2 separate regions of the Homo sapiens genome follow, and region 2 is linked to region 1. Evidence: promoter capture Hi-C in human tissues and cell types (Jung and others, 2019). All regions are on one chromosome and are shown on one strand. The core of a region is centred on a gene start or on the middle of the fragment in contact, and the rest is flanking DNA. Distances in the headings are between cores, read along the strand shown.

Evidence for each region. Contacts are between HindIII fragments. The study calls those that stand out against the background at their distance.
Region 2: a fragment that was not itself captured here is called in contact with the fragment with the promoter of FBXO32 in region 1 in 1 of the 25 tissues and cell types used here (dorsolateral prefrontal cortex).

The regions. Positions count from the first base shown.
Region 1 is chr8:123,538,380-123,542,511 of GRCh38, forward strand. It overlaps FBXO32 (F-box protein 32), which reads right to left and starts at 2,827. Exons shown (of 9, transcript NM_058229.4): 1 at 2,520-2,827. The coding sequence starts at 2,635. RefSeq lists silencers at 2,724-2,813, 2,864-2,973, 3,064-3,353. The HindIII fragment of the contact is 9,982 bases long and covers 1-4,132 here.
Region 2 is chr8:124,528,422-124,532,650 of GRCh38, forward strand. All of the region lies in intron 1 of TATDN1 (TatD DNase domain containing 1), which reads right to left. Among named protein-coding and RNA genes, the nearest start is that of TATDN1, 8.5 kb to the right of the region's middle. The HindIII fragment of the contact is 4,550 bases long and covers 1-4,229 here.

The sequences.
Region 1 (4,132 bases), core at 1,577-4,076:
ACCATGTCTCTGTAGTTCTCTGTTTCACGGTCCCTCCCCGCTTAAGGGCCTGCCTTTTGTTTTCTCATAACAGGAGAGGCATTCAGCTTCACCTGTGCAGGCAGGCACGCAGTCCAAACCTGACATCACGGGGAAACATCACCAAGACCAAAAACAGTGAGGATATTTGAGATGACAAACCCAGACCACAGAAGGCCAACTGCTTTTAAGAAGTTGCAGGCTTCTCATGCTAAGCAGGGAAGGGATTGTTTACAGTTGCTGGAAAAAAAAATACCCTGCAAACAAACAGCCAGCTGCTTTGCTAGGAGGCTACCAAATGATTCCTAAACGCTGACTCAAAGGACCACAGGTGGTCAGTATATCAATGACTATTTGCGGTAATGATGATGGATGTGACAGCTCCAGCTCAGGTGTGAAATGGGAAGAAAAAGAGGCTCATGAACAGGACACGGGAGGGGGGCTGTGCAGGAAACCACCTGATTCCAGCCCAGTCTAAACTTTTGTGGTAAGTTAAGACCATCTTCAGGTCTTCCATACTGTGAAGACAGAGATACCACTATTTCTAAAGGAGAGTGACACCAGTTTCTCTCCTGATGCCGGTATAGGGTATTTTAAAACAAATTTTAAATTTTTATTTATTTTTAGAGACAGGGTCTCGCTCTGTGGCCCAGGCTGGAGCGCAGTGGCACAGTCATGACTCGCTGCAGCCTTGAACTTCTGAGCACAAGCCATCCTCCCACCTCAGCCTCCCGAGTAGGGTAAGTATTAATACGACCCTACATTTTAAATCTTCTGCTGAACTCAATCATCTGTTCTCCACTGAGGAGCATCCTGCAATTATATTTGGGTGAGCAGCTCTAACATGACTCTTCAGACCCTTTCGGCACTTTTCTAGAAAGAACCTGAACTTGTATACAGAAATAAAGTACCAACATATTAGATCATTGTCCTTAGGAACAAGGAGGAAGGAAGGAAGGTTCCCATTTTGTTGAGGGAGAATAATTTAGGCATAATTGGTAACTCCAGTCGATAAAAGACATAGTCTGTCAATAGCAGTTGGTCTTACTTTCCCGTAAATAAATTACTTGATTTTACGTAAATAAGATTTCCTTATGGTGGTCCCTAAACTCCCCTGGGACAGCCTCCAAGTAACTCCAACGTAAATGGTTATATGCTGGTGGTTAATACGCTCAAGTCTCTCCGGACAGACCCCCAGAATTAAATAATGTCTTTCTTTACATTGTGAGACAATGGGAATTTGATGCATTACAAATCACAAACAAATGGGAGGCACGGGAGTTCAAGTTGCCAAAATAACCACATTTTCTTGATAGTTTTCTCAAAATTTATTGCCAATGCTTCATCCAAGCAACGACTGGTAAATCTCAGTAAGCGGGAACCTGGCCCAGAAACAGAATTCTCCATTGAAGTCAATTTAAGGGTGCAGGGGCCCATGGTTTTAACCAAAGGTGGCAGGAAAAGGCTCCCAAGGGTGACTCTGGCTGCACCAGTCCATTCTGGAATCACTTTCATCGCCCCCGCTCACCGGGCTAAATGCTGAGAGTCTCTGAAAGTCAACTGTCGAGGTCAGGGGCTGAGAAATTCCAGGCTACCTTGCGTACTAGCCGGCGCTGGCATCGTTAGCCAAGCTGAGCAGGGAGCGCAGCGGACCTCAGGTTTCCCGCCAGACCACAGAGCTCAGGTGAGGCCTCGAATCCAGAGGCTCACCGGGGCCAGGCAGGCTTTTCGCAGCTGACAGGCACCCCTGGAAACGGAGTGCACTCTATACAAAGCAGACCGACCGAGAGGGCCACCGAGGAAACAGGTGCAAGAGCCCTGTCCTCCCAGAAGCAGAGCTCTTGTGGGATTCATCCCCTGCCCCCTTCCCTCCTTTGCACCTCTGCAGCCCCAAGCCTCCACCGCTCGCAAGTCCGCCCAGTAAGCGGCTGCCCCAGGGACCATCTGGCCGTCCCTTCCTGGTTACTCATCCTCCCGGCCACTTCGTGGTTGCCCGTGCCTGGGCAGGGCCTGGAAGCGCTCCAGGCGGGACCTTCGTCGGATCCCGTCACCTGTCGCGTCCACAGCGCTTGGGCGCTGGGAGCCGGGCCACCCCGCGGTGAAGGGGCTCAGCCCACCCGCCCGCGCCCCCACATGGGCAAAGTGCGCGACTCCGGTGTCCTTAAAGCAGGGACCACTAAAGCTGTGTGATTAAGTTTGAGCGAACGTTTGGGGACACGATCCGCGAATGTCATCAGACTCTCAGAGGGACCAGGTGTTCTGTAAGGAGTCGTGTCCACTTGGAGACACTGACCTTGAACAATAAGAGAAACCGAATTCCCTGTCTCCGGTGGTCCGAAGACCTCTGCAGAAATCGGGCCCCGTAGTCCCACCCTCCGGGTCAGGGTCTCCCTCCTCAGCCCGCTCCAGCCCTGCCTGCCCCTCATTCGCCGTCCCTGCGCCCCCCAGACCAGCCCGGGTCAGTTTCGCGGGGGCTGGAAGTTGGTAGCGGGTCCCCTCACCTGCTGAGGTCGCTCACGAAACTGCCGCTCTTCTCATCCAGGAAGCGCTTCCAGCCGTCGGCCGTCTTCACCCAGTTCTGCCCGGGGGACCGCCAGTCCTGCCCGAGGAATGGCATGGCACCGCGAGCGGACTAGACGGATGGGGAGACGGGGCCGGCCTGGTGGGCTCGGGGACGTGCCACCCGGGGCGGATGCTCGGGGTGCAGGGGCCCGCGACGGGGGCGGCGGGGCGGCGGGAACGGCGCGGGGCACCCTGCGGGGTGGCGGGCGCGGAGAGGATCTCAAGCGTTGCAGGCTCCGGGAGTGCTGCGCGGCAGTAGCTGCCGCAGTATTTATCCCCGCAGCCGGCCGCAGCTCTTTGTTGCCGGAAGAGCCGCCCGCTCTTAGCCCGGCCCCCCGGCCCGGAGGCCACGTGGCTTTGTTTATGGGCTCGGCTTGTTTTCCGAGGCGCCTGCGGCTCACGCTCCCCTCCCGGTTGCACAACCGCGCCGGTGGAAACTTGAAGCGGTGCTGCCGGGCCGGGTACCCCGCCGCCCCTGGCACCTCCGCGCGCCCTCCCCGCCCCCAGGACACCGTTGTCCCAGAGCGAGGCCCGGCGCTTGGAAAGATGCGCCCCGGTCTCCTGCAGCTCCCGGGCTGACGGGGTGCAGGGAGGGGGCCGGAGGGGCGTCTGGGTCCCTGCGGGGTGGGCGTGAGGAGCAGGGCCAGCCCCCCTCCTGCCCCCGAGCTATCAGGATCGACCTCCGCAGCCAGATCAGCCTCCCGGGCCGTCCGCAGAGCTGGGGCCGGCACCGCGCCCGCCGGGCGGGGAGTAGGGGGCGCAGCCTCCTGACCTCGCTCACTGCCCCAACCCCGCCCTAGCGCGCGGGGGTTGGAGCGGGGAGGAGGGACAGCCTCCCAGCCCTCCGGGCCCCTTAGCTGTCACTAACCAGTCCTCCTTCAGACCTGCCCCTGGGGCAGCAAAGGAGGGGAAGGAGAGGAAGCCCTGGGAGGTATCTGGCTCCCGCAGGTTGGGAGTGGAGAAAAAGAACAGCGCCCCTATCCTACCCGAACCCTCTAAGAGACGGGTTAAATGATGTACCCAGGGCCAATGCTACAGTACAATCTGAAACTACCCTGTTTGCTTTTACTTTTTGCTGTTGTTACAACAATCTACCCCTGTCTGCAGTGGGAACTCCATGAGAGCTGGTCTGTCTTGTTCCGGAGGCATTTCAGCCCCTGCACCCTGCCAGGCCCAGTGCAGGCCTTCAACAACTATTTGTGTGAATAAGTGAATGGATACGGGAGGCTGCTGGCATGAGGGTGGCTTCTTGCCCTTCATCACCTCTAGTTATGATGCTTTACAGCCTGGTCTATTTGGCAATTAGTTTGCACAGGACAGCAGCAGCAGAGTAAAAATCCCATACTCAAGCATTAGCTTCAAACTTCATTCTTCCATTCTTCTTTCTCTGCAGCCATCAATATCATCTAGTCCACTGACTCGGTGTAATCTTTAAGGCTCAGGCAAAGAAATTGTGTGTGCCCTATGAGGCTACATGTTGGACTGGGAAGACGTTTTTAATAAAGTTTGTTTTCAAGAAGCCAGAGCTTTCTGATTTAGATTTCCCACCGTA
Region 2 (4,229 bases), core at 806-3,305, 990 kb after region 1:
CTCGGCCTCCCAGAGTGCTGGGATCACAGGGGTGAGCCACTGCGCCCGGCCTCTAACAGTTTCTATTTCACCTGAAGTACTTATGTAACAGGAGGTATGGGCCAAACAACTCCTTGTTTGGCTAGGAGAAAATCTACGGCAACTTTATTATCTAGTACTACTTGAGCCAAGGAGTTTAGAGACTTTTGTTGAGCTACAAGGCTTTTTGCAGTGTCTGCAGCTATCTTGAGGTGGGAAATTAAAGAAAAATAAAATTAAAAAGATAGAGAAATAAGTTTTCCTGTATTAGACTGACTTGTCCCAGAGGCGGCAACAGGCACAACCCAGACCCAGGAAAAGTCTTGATAATGGTATCTAATGTGCTGTGGAGACTCTCCCAGCACTCCCTCAACATAAGGAGAAGAAAAACAAATTTTCCTTTGCTTTATGGTATGAGTTTATAGATTCTTGTTCTCTGTAACTAGTAACTTCAAGTATTCTGTTTTATCTAAGAAGTACAACAAAGGTCACGAGAAGCCTGAGTAGGCCTGAACTACAGCTGCCTGGGCCCCACAGTGAAGGTTATGGGATAAGCCCGTGCCTAGGCAAACCTAGATAACGGACACCTGGGTTGCTTGGCAATGGTCATGAGCAATCCTGAGTCTGTCCTGCCTCTGTATCCCTGCTTTCACACCACTGTAAGCTTGCTTCAAGCTAGCCCACACCCTTTTGTGAAGTGTGTATAAAAGTCAAGTGCTGTCTTTGTTTCGGGCTCAGTCTTTGGACCTGAGTCTGCTGGGCCTGAGTGCACTCAATAAAAGATTCTCCTGTTTCAACCCGAGGTCTCTCATACTCCTAAATCCCGCAACAATGTGACTAATAGTGGCAAAGACTTTTCAAATCATATCCTTATTGACATAAATCCCAACACTCGGAATTAATATTCCCAGGATGCTTTGATCTGTATCACCTTCACACCCTGCCAACACAGACCTTTTAGTTTAATAATGGAGAGAAAGGGGGTCCTTCTGTAAGTTTGTGTAAGGATACGGGGGGTTACAAAATATCTCAGCAAGCATGAACCTTCTAACTGTAGGCTGCCGAGGCAACAGTGTGCCCAAAGCTGTGCAGGTGGATCAGACCTTATGCCACATACAAACACACAGCCTGAATGGGGGGCACAAGTGATACTCCTGAGGATGTCTTAATTAGCAGATGTATTCATGCGGAGTGCTGACATCACCAAACTAAACTATGGGCCATTTCTCTTGCAAGCTTTCCAGAATCCACTCACTTATTTTAAATGTAAATATTGTGGGCACTGTAGGGATATATTTTTAACTTTATTTATCTGATGTAGATGACACTTGTCTATCCAGTAGTTCATAGGTCAAGAAGGTCCCATGGTAGGCCGGGTGCAGTGGCTCATGTCTGTAATCCCAGCACTCTGGGAGGCCAAGGCAGGTGGATTACTTGAGGTCAGGAGTTTAAGACCAGCCTGGCCAACACAGTGAAATCCAGTCTCTACTAAAAATACAAAAATTAGTTGGGCATGGTGGCAGGTGCCTGTAATCCCAGCTCTTGGGATGCTGAGGCAGGAGAATCGCTTGAACCCGGGAGGCGGAGGTTATAGTGAGCTGAGATCTCACCACTGCACTCCAGCCTGGGTAACAGGCCAAGACTCAGTCTCAAAAAAAAACCATAAAAAACCCAAAGAACAACAACAACAAAGAAGGTCCCATGGTAAAGAATGGGTTTCCAATGTTAAAAACACAGGACACATCAAAACAAGGGGTGACAATATCTGGGCTTTGAAGGAATTGGACCTGGAAAATCAACAGGGAAAGGGGTTGGTCTGGGTAAGTGGTGACATTAGGGACATCTGAGCAGTCAGTGACAGATATTACCAATGGCACATATCTATTATGAATGGATCAAGGAAGTTGTTGGCAAATCCAGCAATCCAATAGGTTTCCTTCTACTAGCAACATGTGGGACAGCTTAACTAAAGTGTTATCATGCCATTCTCTGCATTGAGACAAGACAGAGGGACAATTGCAAAGAGAGGGAAAGGTGACAGTGCAGGTATGAGTAAAAGGAATGGAGGGAACAGCCATTTAACAATTCAGAAAACTGAACCAAGGGAAAAACCATAAATCCCATACAAATCCAAGGGGATTATCTGACAAACTTAAGGGACTGTCCTTAAGTAAGAGAACATCTCACTACAGGAACAAAGCAATGATGTCCTCAGGAGTGGGGGTCATAAGCCCTGCTCAGTTCTGATAAAGACAAGAAGAGGAAGCACACAGGTAGCTAAACATCGAAGTTATCTAGCAGAAAGGCATGGAACAAATTCTATTAGTTTAGATAGAGGCAAATTATTAAATGAGACCCAGTGTCTTTGAATACAGTCCTGGCCCTGGGTCTCATGAAAGCAGTTTATGTTGACTATTGCCTTTTTCTGGGTCTAAAGATGAGGCTCTGGTTAACTGAAGTCTCGTGTAGAGACTGGCACCAACTTCCAAGATTCAGCAAGGGTTGTTGTTTTCAGATGAGACATGTGCGACCAGGAGTCAATCTCTATAACTTAGCAGCACAAGGATTAATTAATAGCACCCATCCAGTAGGCTGGATGAAGTATTTTAACTGATGTCTCTTCCACTACTTGTCATCACCAAGCTGGAGGTGGTAATACTGGAGTTTATGGCCTGTTGGGAAGCTGTAAAAAGATTCTACAACTTGCAGTGACTGATCTTTATAGCTTTAACAAGCCCCTGGCAATAAGCCTAAAGTTCCCTCCTGTCATTTGGCAGGAGAAAATATTTCCTGGTCTAAGTGCACAGACCAACCAGTAACAATTTCAAAAGGGGAGAGCTGACATTTACTGGTGGGAATGGACTGCAGAATCAGTAATGCTAATGGGAGAGCTTTAGGCAAGGACAGGTTAAGTTTCTGTAACTTTCGCCAGCTCGCTTTCAATGATCCCATTAGACTGTTCAACTAGCCCAGAGGACTGGGGGTAATAGGCACAGTGAAAGTGCTGTAAAAGGGCAGATTTAAAAAACTTGTTCTAGTATTTGGCAGGTAAAATGAGTGCCTCTGTCGCTGTGGAATTCAGTGGGAACACCCTAGATAGGAATGGTTTTTCTCAAGCAGCATTTTGGCCACCACCATAGCTGTTGCTTGTTTACAGGTGAAAGACCTACCTCAATGAGAATACATCGTCAACCATTAGAAGAACAAAATTTAATCTGTGGGATGGTGGTAACTAAATGAAATCAAGTTGTCACATGGTTAAGGGACCCTAGGGGAGAGGAAATTGTCCTGGAGGGAGCTTCAGGAGTTCACCTGGGTTATACTGAGGGTAGATATTGCAAAGTTTACATAGCGGTGGGGCAAGAGCTGGAGAGAGCCACCATACAGTAGTACTGTCTACCCCACTGAATCATTTTGTCTGGATTCTAATGGGTTAGATTATGTATGAAGGTTGTTTGTCTTTGCAGGGTGCTGGGTAGGACTGGATGTCCATTTGGACCTTCCTGTAATTTTGTCTGGGGATTGCAAGCGCAATTTTGTTTCATCCATTTCCCTCTTCCAGACTCCAAGACTGTCTTTTGTGAAAATAAGTCTGGAAAGGTCTTCAGATGGGGAGGGGAGCAAGGAAGAAGGAAGAGCAAGGGGGGGAGGAGGAGGAGGAGGAGGAGGAGTGGGTTGAGTACAACTCGGGAAGGAGCCACATGCTGGGTGGCAGCTTTAGCTGCTGCATCCACTAGGTGGTTGCCTTCGCTGTCTTCTGTCTTGTCAGAGAAATGTCCTTCGACTATGATAACGGCTAGGGCTCAATGAGCCTGAATGGCATCTAAGAGAAACAAAACAGTCTTTGTTTTTGTTTTTTTCTGAGACAGAGTCTCACTCTGTCGCCCGGGCTGGAGTGCAGTGGTGCAATCTCAGCTCACTGCAGCCTCCACCTCCCAGGCTCAAGTGATTCTCCTGCCTCAGCCTCCCACATAGCTGGGATTACAGGTGCATGCCACCACGTCTGGCTAATTTTTGTGTTTTTTATAGAGACGAGGTTTCACCATGTTGGTCAGGCTGGTCTCAAACTCCTGACCTCAAGTGATCCACCTGCCTCGGCTTCCCAAAGTGCTAGGATTACAGGCGTGAGCCACTGCACCTGGCCTAGTCTTTGTTCTTAATAGGTTGTCCAGAGGAAGTAAAAAATCCTCTTTGTTTCTAGAGCATGCCAA